Linked DNA regions of Homo sapiens: all the other regions are linked to region 1. The links are contacts of gene promoters, found by promoter capture Hi-C in human tissues and cell types (Jung and others, 2019). All regions are on one chromosome and are shown on one strand. The core of a region is centred on a gene start or on the middle of the fragment in contact, and the rest is flanking DNA. Distances in the headings are between cores, read along the strand shown.

The links. Contacts are between HindIII fragments. The study calls those that stand out against the background at their distance.
Region 2: a contact is called between a fragment that was not itself captured here and the fragment with the promoter of HSPA8 in region 1, in 1 of the 25 tissues and cell types used here (dorsolateral prefrontal cortex).
Region 3: a contact is called between a fragment that was not itself captured here and the fragment with the promoter of HSPA8 in region 1, in 1 of the 25 tissues and cell types used here (hippocampus).

Annotation. Positions count from the first base shown.
Region 1 is chr11:123,060,549-123,063,837 of GRCh38, reverse strand. It overlaps HSPA8 (heat shock protein family A (Hsp70) member 8), which reads left to right and starts at 1,702. Exons shown (of 9, transcript NM_006597.6): 1 at 1,702-1,774; 2 at 2,509-2,718; 3 at 3,040-3,245. The coding sequence starts at 2,514. LOC124902775 (a long non-coding RNA gene) reads right to left here and starts at 1,176. Exons shown (of 2, transcript XR_007062927.1): 1 at 307-1,176. RefSeq lists enhancers at 954-1,223, 1,784-1,953 and a silencer at 1,244-1,633. The HindIII fragment of the contact is 26,894 bases long and covers 1-3,289 here.
Region 2 is chr11:121,352,295-121,355,583 of GRCh38, reverse strand. No RefSeq gene overlaps it. Among named protein-coding and RNA genes, the nearest start is that of SC5D, 61 kb to the right of the region's middle. The HindIII fragment of the contact is 4,702 bases long and covers 1-3,289 here.
Region 3 is chr11:121,593,053-121,596,341 of GRCh38, reverse strand. SORL1 (sortilin related receptor 1) reads right to left here. Exons shown (of 48, transcript NM_003105.6): 32 at 570-719. Among named protein-coding and RNA genes, the nearest start is that of SORL1-AS1, 140 kb to the right of the region's middle. RefSeq lists an enhancer at 1-1,087. The HindIII fragment of the contact is 7,178 bases long and covers 1-3,289 here.

The DNA of each region.
Region 1 (3,289 bases), core at 453-2,952:
TTCTTGGGACGTGGGAGAGGCTAAGAATATATCTCCATGAACTCTAAGCCAACATTCCTCCCCAAAAGGAAAATATGAAAAGGAAATTCTTCATATGTTTGAGTCTGTCTCTACCCTTTACTGGCTTTGACAAGGACAAGATGTCCTCGCTCTTCTGACAGCCTTTTTCGCAGTCTAGAGACCTTCTAATTCCAGCCCTGCTACTAAAAGTTCTTTTGGTGTAGCCTTAAAAAATCTTTTCCCCCATCGGTGCCTATTTATCTACTAAATAGGAATAACAGCTACCTCGCCTGCTTGAAAGGATACAGGGAGTGTTCAAGGTACCTGAGACAGGCTCTTGGAACCACAAGGCCCCACATATCCGCGGCCATGCACAACATTGCACAATTCAAAATTCTAGGCACCATTGTTTTGTGCACCAGCTCAGTCACGTTTTCAAAGCGTCGGTATGGTCTGTCGTTTAATTTTTGATGAAAGTCAAACCAGGAAAGATATCACCTCATGTTACTGAAAATACAAACGTTCAGAAAGTCTAAATCAAGGACGCACGGCTACTGGAACCTATGATTCCTAATGCCTGGTTCACCTAACCAAGAACACACTCGCCACCATTTAAACCTGTTTATTTTATAAACAACGGGGAAATGTAGGGCTTGGGCTAGTTGGGGAAGGACTGAGCCAAGAAGCCGAATCTGTTCTAGACGGAGGTGGGAAGGGGCCTAACGGTCAGGGCTCAGAGAAGCGGTTTCGCCTTCTTTTCCGCGGAGGGATCCAGACACGACCGCGTCCTGAGGCGGTTCTGAAAAGCCGGGCCCCTTAAACCTCTGCGTCGGGGGCTGCCTCCCGACAGTTGCCGTAGGGAAATGCAGGTGCTGGGAGGCCTGCCGAGCTAACCCGCCCCACCCCGCGGCGGCCTGGCGGCTCCCTCCAATCCCAATCCTGGGGGGCCGTGAGCGAGCAGCCCTAGTGGCACCCTGAAGCCGGAACCTTCGCCCCAGCCCCTCGGGGTCAGCCCTTGTCCAAAGCCACGCTATGAAATACAGATTCGCGAAACCCGGGGCACTTAGAGGCCCGTCTGGAACACGAAGGTGGGGCATGGAAAGGAGGATTCGGACGTGGGTGGGGGAGGGGAGCAACAACCTTCGCAGCCATTTTGTCCTCGCTCCACTTCCGTCTTCTCCTGCCCGGCTCCCGCGCCCAAACCCCTCCCTTCAGGCCCCGCGCGATTCCGCCCCCAGTTCTGTGCCGGCCAAGATCCCGGCTAGCGCCGCTATCATTGGTTAGTTCCAAGTTTGCCCGCCCCTCTTCCTCCTCCTTTTTCCGCCCCCTCCCTCCCGCGGAAGCTGGGGGCGCATGCGTAGAGGTGGACGCTCCCCTCCCCCGCCCGGGGTAACTGAGGACTCCCGCGCGCGGACTCGCTGCGCCCCACCCTCCCTTTCCCCGGGGCCGTCCGGAGAGCGGGGGCGAGCTTGAAAGTTCCAGAACGCTGCGGTGAGTGCGTTATCGTGAGGCGGAGCGCGGTGGGGTGGGTGCGGAAGGGGGCGAGGCCCGAGGAGTGGAGCCGGGCTTGTGATTGGGTCTTGTAAGGGCAGCCGGGCGTCTATTGGCCGGGGAAGCCGTAATGGCAGGCAGCAGGGGCGGGCCCCTTCTGGAAGGTTCTAAGATAGGGTATAAGAGGCAGGGTGGCGGGCGGAAACCGGTCTCATTGAACTCGCCTGCAGCTCTTGGGTTTTTTGTGGCTTCCTTCGTTATTGGAGCCAGGCCTACACCCCAGGTAAAACCTCTGCTCAAGAGTTGGGTTGTGGGTCTGGGAGCGTGCAGCCTCCACACAGGCCTGTTGGGCTTGCTGAGGCTTGGGGGTTCTGAGAATCTCGTCGAGGCGAGTGTGCGGCTCCTTCTACCGGCTTAAAGGGCCTCAGTTTTCGGTGGGATGGCAGCGGTATTTGGTTGCAGCCGGCAGGACGGAAATGTAGGGAGTGGGCCGCAGTGGCCCCAGGGGAGGCTGGGAGACGCCCGGCGGCCGCGTGGCGGGGGAGGGTTGCTGCATCGGTTTGCCTGGCGCGCGGGGAAGTGGAGCCAGCGTTTTCTTTCACCCAGTTCCCTGCTTAGTCCAGTCCCACCGTGGTTCTTCAGAGCTGTTCTTGGCGTGCTTCCAGTATGGGGGTACATTCCGGAGTAGTTAAAAGCCCGTTGACTCCCGGGGGCACTGGCACCTGGCGAGGGAGGGGAACAGACAGTGCTCAGTTCGGGGTAAGACCACGTGTTGAGCAACGCCCCACGCCGTCTGGGTAGATGGGTCCTTCATCTAGGGCGTGCTCTGCTGCGGTTGGCACGGCAACCTGGACTGCAGCACTAGTTCTGGACCTCGCGCGTGCTTAGACAGGAGGTGATGGGCACTATTACCTCTTGGCAGTGGCCATACGTTTTTCCTGGTTAAGTGTTCTGTTAAGGGATGAGGGAAATATTTTGATTAATTGAATTTTTAAACCAGATTTTTCTTTTTTTCAGCAACCATGTCCAAGGGACCTGCAGTTGGTATTGATCTTGGCACCACCTACTCTTGTGTGGGTGTTTTCCAGCACGGAAAAGTCGAGATAATTGCCAATGATCAGGGAAACCGAACCACTCCAAGCTATGTCGCCTTTACGGACACTGAACGGTTGATCGGTGATGCCGCAAAGAATCAAGTTGCAATGAACCCCACCAACACAGTTTTTGGTGAGTTCCTAATTTTAAATGACAGAACAAATATAACAGGGCTAGGAAGCACAAAAGTTTATGAAACGTGAGGAGGGAACTTTTTGATTTTAGAAAAACTGAGCTGAGAGACTTGTTATCAAGTCTGTTATAAAACAGGTTGTAGAAACCTTTCAGGCTGAAATCTGGATAACGTAGGAGGTTGAAGTTTGAACCTTTGCTACCTATATGGTAGTTGAATTCACCTACCTATGAACTGTTAGGTATTTGAGTAATCATGGACTTGAGTTTTATCAGAAGAGCTATGAAATTGAAAGTGTTTTCATTTGACACCTTTTACAGATGCCAAACGTCTGATTGGACGCAGATTTGATGATGCTGTTGTCCAGTCTGATATGAAACATTGGCCCTTTATGGTGGTGAATGATGCTGGCAGGCCCAAGGTCCAAGTAGAATACAAGGGAGAGACCAAAAGCTTCTATCCAGAGGAGGTGTCTTCTATGGTTCTGACAAAGATGAAGGAAATTGCAGAAGCCTACCTTGGGAAGGTGAGGTTGGTTTTTCAGTATGGGGTGCATTCCGGAGTAGTTAA
Region 2 (3,289 bases), core at 242-2,741, 1.7 Mb after region 1:
CGGGGATGGAGCTCGAAGTCCCAACCCTCTAATCATGTCTTGGTCTTTCCTGTGACCAATCCCATCCTGAAGACACATAGGGGCTGACAGCCGTCAGTCAACTTATTAGCATACAAAAAAATCACCTTAGAGATTAGGAGTATTTAGGAGTTGTATGCCAGGAAATGGGGATGAAGACCAAATATATATTTCACAATATCACAGGGAGAAAAACTTGAATTTTACTTCATCAGTTATCCATGTCTTCCAGTTTGGAACAGCACAGTGATAAGATGGAGATAGAAATGAGGATGGAGAGAGATAAACAGGTAACTAGTCAAGCCTGCTTGTCCTAGATGTGTTTAAATGTGATTGTTGGCATAACCTCTCTGAGCCATGCTATCCTCAGGGTATACTCTTTAGGGCTTTTATTAACTCATTTGCTCAATCACTCATTTATCAAATATTTACTGTGTGCCTACTATATTAGGCACTGTGCTAAGTGCTGGGAGCTCAAAGTCAAGATGTGAGCTTTGACCCCAAATAAGCTTTTGTCCAGTGGTTGAGATTGTCATGTAAATAAGCCATCACATATACTACAATAAAGGTCTGTATAGGATATAGTGGGGCACAAAGGAGAGATTCACCAACTCTACCTGAAGAAGTCAGCATCTCTTGAGCTGGGGTCCAAAGGATGGTTATGAGTTCACCTGGCAGACAAAAAACAATGATGAGGGAAAAACAATATGGAAACAGCAAGTCAAGCTAAAGAAATGACAAGAATGTTTGCGAAGCTAGAGGATGAGATGGTGACAGTGTTTAGGAGCATGAAGAGGACAAGAGAGGTAATGATTAAAAGTGAGAATGGAGAAATAGCCACTAGAGCACAGGAGCCTAACATGTCATGATAAGGAGTTTGGACTTAATCCTGTAGGTCATGTGGAGTCACTGATGCTTCTTAAACAAGGAAATAACACTCTTGTTTGCATGTTATCTATATATATATTTTATAAATCATGATGTATTTTATGAAGTTTACTCTGTCAGGGAGACAGACTGAAGAAAGCAGGGTGAGACTAGAAGCAAGAAAACCATCTAGAGGGGTATTTGTCAATATTCCAGTTACAATTCACACACACACAAAAACCAACTTAAACTAGCTAAGCTAAATTTCTGGGGAGAGAGACACAGTCACATAATAGAGTGCAAAGGCTTCAGGCACAGCTGGATCCAGGAGCTCAAACAAGGACATCAAGTGTCTCTCCATTTCTTGACTCTGCTAGTTTTCTCTTTTCTTTATGTGTTATGTTCTCTAATACCACAGACAGATTATGTCCAATGGCAGGAAGGATGGTTGCTGGAAACCTCAAGTCTATATTTTTAATAACAAGAGCTATATAACTTTTGGTTCGGAAGTAAAAGAGACCCTCTTTTTCCCAGAATCCTTATATCAAATTTCATGGGAGCACTCTGATGGGCTCTGTGTAGAACATGTCTCCCAATGGACAAGAGTTTTGGGCACTATGATTGTCCAGGCCATGGTTATGTGGCCACTCCTGTGGACTGGGGCAGCAGGTGTATCTTGACCATCAGTTTCCTCAGGAAATGGAGGAAGGGCACTTCCCTAAAAGATAAACTGGTGCAGTTACCAAAAGAAGGAATAGCAAGTGTGTAGGACAGATACAACTAGATCTGCCAAAGTTAACTTCACTTGGGTAGAAACTAATGAAGAATTGGGCTTGAGAAGGACAACATAGATCCATTGACTTTTTTAAAAACAAATTTTAAAGAGTTAGAATGAATCAGAGTTTGCAATAGAATCGAAATAGGAAAGATAGGAGCAGAGGGCCTTTTGCAAAATCTTAGGGCTCTTACTTGGATGAATACGTTTGGGGCAGTGTATTTAATTGAAATTTAAAAAACTGGCCCAGCACCGTGGCTCATGCCTGTACTCCCAGCACTTTGGGAGGCTGAGGTGGGTGGATCACCTGAGGTCAAGAGTTCGAGACCAGCCTGGCCAACATGGCAAAACCCTGCCTCTACTAAAAATACAAAAATTAGCCTGGCATGGTGGCATGTGCCTGTAATTCCAGCTACCCTGGAGGCTGAGGCAGGAGAACTGCTTGAACCCAGGAGGCAGAGGTTACAGTGATCCAAGATTGTACCAGTGCCCTCCAGCCTGGGTGATAGAGTGAGACACTGTCTCAAAAAAAAAAAAAAAAAAAAAAAAAGCCTAGAAGGTAAGTAGGTTTGAGCCACTGGAGTGGGTAGATGCAGATGGTGAGTCCAGCTGTGAGTGCTCAAATGGCCTGCAATGTAGTGTTCGGTAAGGGTGCATAATTTGCACTGAGATTGGTCACGGGTTGGGTGAAAGGAATGGAAGGAGGGAGATGGTGGTTAAATGAGAATGAGACGTGGAGGGAAACTAGCAGCCCCTTCCTCAGGACTGACAGCTGTCTCAATCACCAATCCAGGGTCGAGTTAATTGCAGTGAGCCCCATTCGCTGTCAGTGCCAGGGTACTGATAAATATGCTTGATGAGTACATGCAAGATTGAAGGATATTCGCTTTCTTCATGTTTGTATCATATGTTCTGTGTGGAGCAATTCATATTCTGTGTGTAGGATACTTGTGTAGCTCATTTATGTTACAGTTTCTGTGCAAAGGCTACTGCTGGTTGCTAGAGCTTTAGAGGACTTGGTGTACTGAAGACCAAGAGGGCCTTTGTGGTTCGGGTTGCCTGTCAGGTGAGGAGTTGTCCTGGAGAAGGTTGTTAAGAAGCAGTAATTTCTGAAGAGCAGCTTTCTTGCCAGGCTTATTGGCAGAGAATGCAGTGATGGTGGCAGCTCCCTCGGGTTTGGGGAAAGGCTGGTTGGCAGGGCTACAAGAGGCTCCCAGCTGCTAAAACTCTCTCAACTGGCTTTATGGACTGAGAGAGAGGCAGTGGGAGCTGCCAAGGACATGACATTTCTCATGCTAATTAGGAAGGGAGGCAGCATCCACAGCTGTGTTGATTTATGTTTTGATGTTGGACATTAGGCCTTGTCTAAGTATAGGTGAGAACGAGGACCTCTGCTTTGGAATCACTCCCAGAGCTTTTGTGTCAATCTCCCCTGTCCTCATACACACACAGAGTGCCTGAGCTCAGCCTCTTTTCATGCCGCCTGTACTGGGGTCACCAGCCTCCCCCTCCTAACCCACCCTTATAACCAGAGCAGATCCGAGCTGAGACTGGGAGCATCTGCCAGCGTCAGGGCACACTGACATCCTTGTGCTCTTATTCGTTAGTTATGCTCACCCATGACACCAA
Region 3 (3,289 bases), core at 259-2,758, 1.5 Mb after region 1:
CCAGGACCCACCAACTCCAAACCCGTAGAGAATGCATGCATCACCTCACACTGGGCTCAGATGGCCCTGTGATTATTCCCCATGTGGCTCGGCACACTATCTCACCAACCATAATTACCCTAAGGACTGAGAATGAATTTTCTTAATGGGGTGCTAGAGGCAAACCCTCTAATAACACAGCTTCTACGCCCAGTAAGTGCTCACTAAATACTTCCAGAAGAATGAATGTACATACAGAAGAGTTGTGGCTTTCCCCAAGGGCGTTTTTAAAGAGTTAAACATGCTTATGAAACCTATTTAAAATATTTATCTTAGTCATTCAGAAAGTATTTTTATTGGACACGCTCCTGGTATTTAAAACGCAGTCAACTTATTAAAAAGAAGGTGACTAACGCAATGGTATGGGTGCACGTGGCAAAGCGCTTGTGGAGAATGCAGTAAGAGCATGGTTACGCAAGTACACAGACTCACACACAGGCGTGTGCTGATCCAGAAATGAAGCAGAAGCACCAGAACTGTGCTCTCTGCAGAAACGTGCCCAGGGGGTGAAGGGCTCTCTGACTACTCACGGCAATTGGCCTCGTCCCGGCCATCCTGGCAATCTTGGTGGCCGTCACAGCGCTTCCAGTTGGGAATACACGTCTTCGGTTGGTGGCATTCGAACTCAAATCGGTCACATCGCCCAAGTTGGGTGGGAGTGGAGGCAGCAGTGACGTTTGCTAAAATAAAAGATTTTTAAAATTTACTTTTTAATATTGAGGGAGCTGGCCAATAACAGCAACCAATCAATATGCTAGGAGATTACGGTGCTTTAGAAATTACAATGGGAACCTGAAGACAAATGCGAGTTCCGGATAGAGAGCAGAGTAGATACAGACATCTAATGTTGCTTCCCCACAGGATCCCACTAAAGCCACAGTCAAGAGATTGTTTTCAAAGACCTAAATCCACGAGGACATGGATAATGAGATTTGGGAGCTGGAAAGAAGACAGATAGCGGTATGTGACTAAAGAGGCCAGCGAAGGCTGCGTCCTACCCTAAGCCGTCACAGGAGAAAGCTCAGAACCAATCAGATCAACAACACACAGTCCTCCAAAAGTTCAGAAACTGGCATCTAACTGGAAGTGAAGAAGGAGTTAAAATAAGGGAACTGACTGAATGATGTTTAAGACGCAGCTACATTCCTTATATCCCCTCCTATCAGTCCCACGAGGCAACCAACCCATACGTCACCCCAATAGAAGAATGGAGGGTTGTTATTTGGAGAAAGTAAAAACAGAGAGTTGTTTAGATAGGCGTAGTTGACAGCAAGTATATCCTACTGATAAAAGGGGGATTAAACCTACATATGGAAGTCCCAGTCCTCTTCTCCGAGGATCCTAGCAATAAGGTAATTATTGTCTAGGCAGGAGATCTAATAATCTTCTCTGGGGAAAATGACCAGCTTCAGAGACTAACCCTGAAGTAACCAAGATTCAGAGTTCCCCCATGGTTCCCAGCCATGAACCTCGAAGTTGACAAGCCCACCCATGTGCTCAGAATTACTTACCAGCACTTTAGTCCCCAGCCTTAAATACAAGCAGCAACCAAGAACTATCTGAGAAAAGGCTTTGACATGAAAGGCAGAAAGCCAAACAGAGCCCTAACCCCCAAAAAGGCCATTTGGAGGAAATAGAGGCTTTGCAAGAAGAAAACTTCAAAAACAAATATCCTTAATACGTTCAGAAAGAAAGAATATATTATTTATCCAAGAAAAAAAGAAAACAGGATACCATAAAAAGGGACAGTGGTAAAAATGGAGAAGCTCTTAAAGTTAAAACCATGACAACAAAGATGAAAAACTCAGCAAAGAGTTGAAATATAAAGTTGAGTAAATCTCCTAGAAAATTGGGGGGGTGGGGGAAGGGAATTTTCAAAACTATAAAAGATTAAACAAAAAAATAAGGAAGAAGACCAGATCAGGAGACAATATATGAATGACAAGAGTTCCAGGAAATAAGAGAAAACAGAGAGGGAAATATCATTAATAAAAACTTCAAGAAAAATTCCTTGAACTAAAATATATAAACTTCCATATCAAAAAGCATGCAAGTGTCCGCTATGTTGGATGGAAAGGGTCTCAGAGCAAAGCACATCATTGTGAAATTTTAAAACACTGGTGCCAAAGGGAAGATTCTACAAGCTTCTAGAGGATTAAAAACAGGTTACATACAAAAAAAAAAAAATCAGAATCAAAATGGCTTTTGGATTTCCGAAAAGCTGCTTGAAGGCAGTGGAACAAAACCTTCAAAACTCTGAAGGAAAATTACTTACAATCTAGCACGCCAAACCCAGCCCAACTATCAATTAAGTCTGAAGACAGAATTAAAACACTTTAAGACAAGCAAGACCTCACACAGGCCTCCCACATACATTTTCTCAGGCATTTTCCAGAAAACGTGCTCTACTGAAACATGGGATTAAACTAAAAAGAGAAAAACTGGGACACAGAAAACAGGAGTTCCAACAGGAGATGGAGGTAAAGGAAATCCTGAAGATGATGATGGTGCAACGTCCTAAAAGGCAGTTGTGCCCCAGGTATACAGGGCAACCAATACAAACCAGAGCAGCAAAATTCAAGAGACAAACACCTGAGAGCTGTCATCACAGTGTCCTTGGCCACTGCGTCATCATATTCACCTGACAAGGCTACTGAAGGATGCACTCCACCCAAACAAGGGAGTAAACCAAGAAAAAGCAACACACAAGATCCAGGAAACAAGGAATCTAAACTGGGAGAAAGGCAAAGAGAATTCCAAGGAGGCAGTGAAAGTCCCTGGGTAACAGGCACACAGCAGGACTAGAGAACAATCTGTCCCGAAAGGAGAATCCACGTTGTTAGAAGGAGTATCTCCAAGAGAAAAACTGGACTTGATAAATCCCTGGACATGTTGACCTGTGGAAAGTTATCCTGAGTGGCGACTGAAAGGCAGAAAGCATTGGCAAATGGTACAAAACAACCTAAGCAAACAAATGAAAAAAGCAATTATTAACTTCAGGATATTGTGCATATTCTATAGTTTTCATTGGATTTTCAAAGGGGCTTTCCCTATATCTCAGAACCACTCTGCAGAAACACAAGGTACATGGAGACAGGTGATAAAAAATAAAAAGGGGGAGAATGCCAGGCCAAGGCAAATCATGCCCTGGACAATAAGGGAGGCATCAGAGGGCTCCAATACTGGGGAGGACATGAGCATTCATCAGTATGGGCCTTATCAGAAGAAAAACTGAAAGGGGGAGAAATAT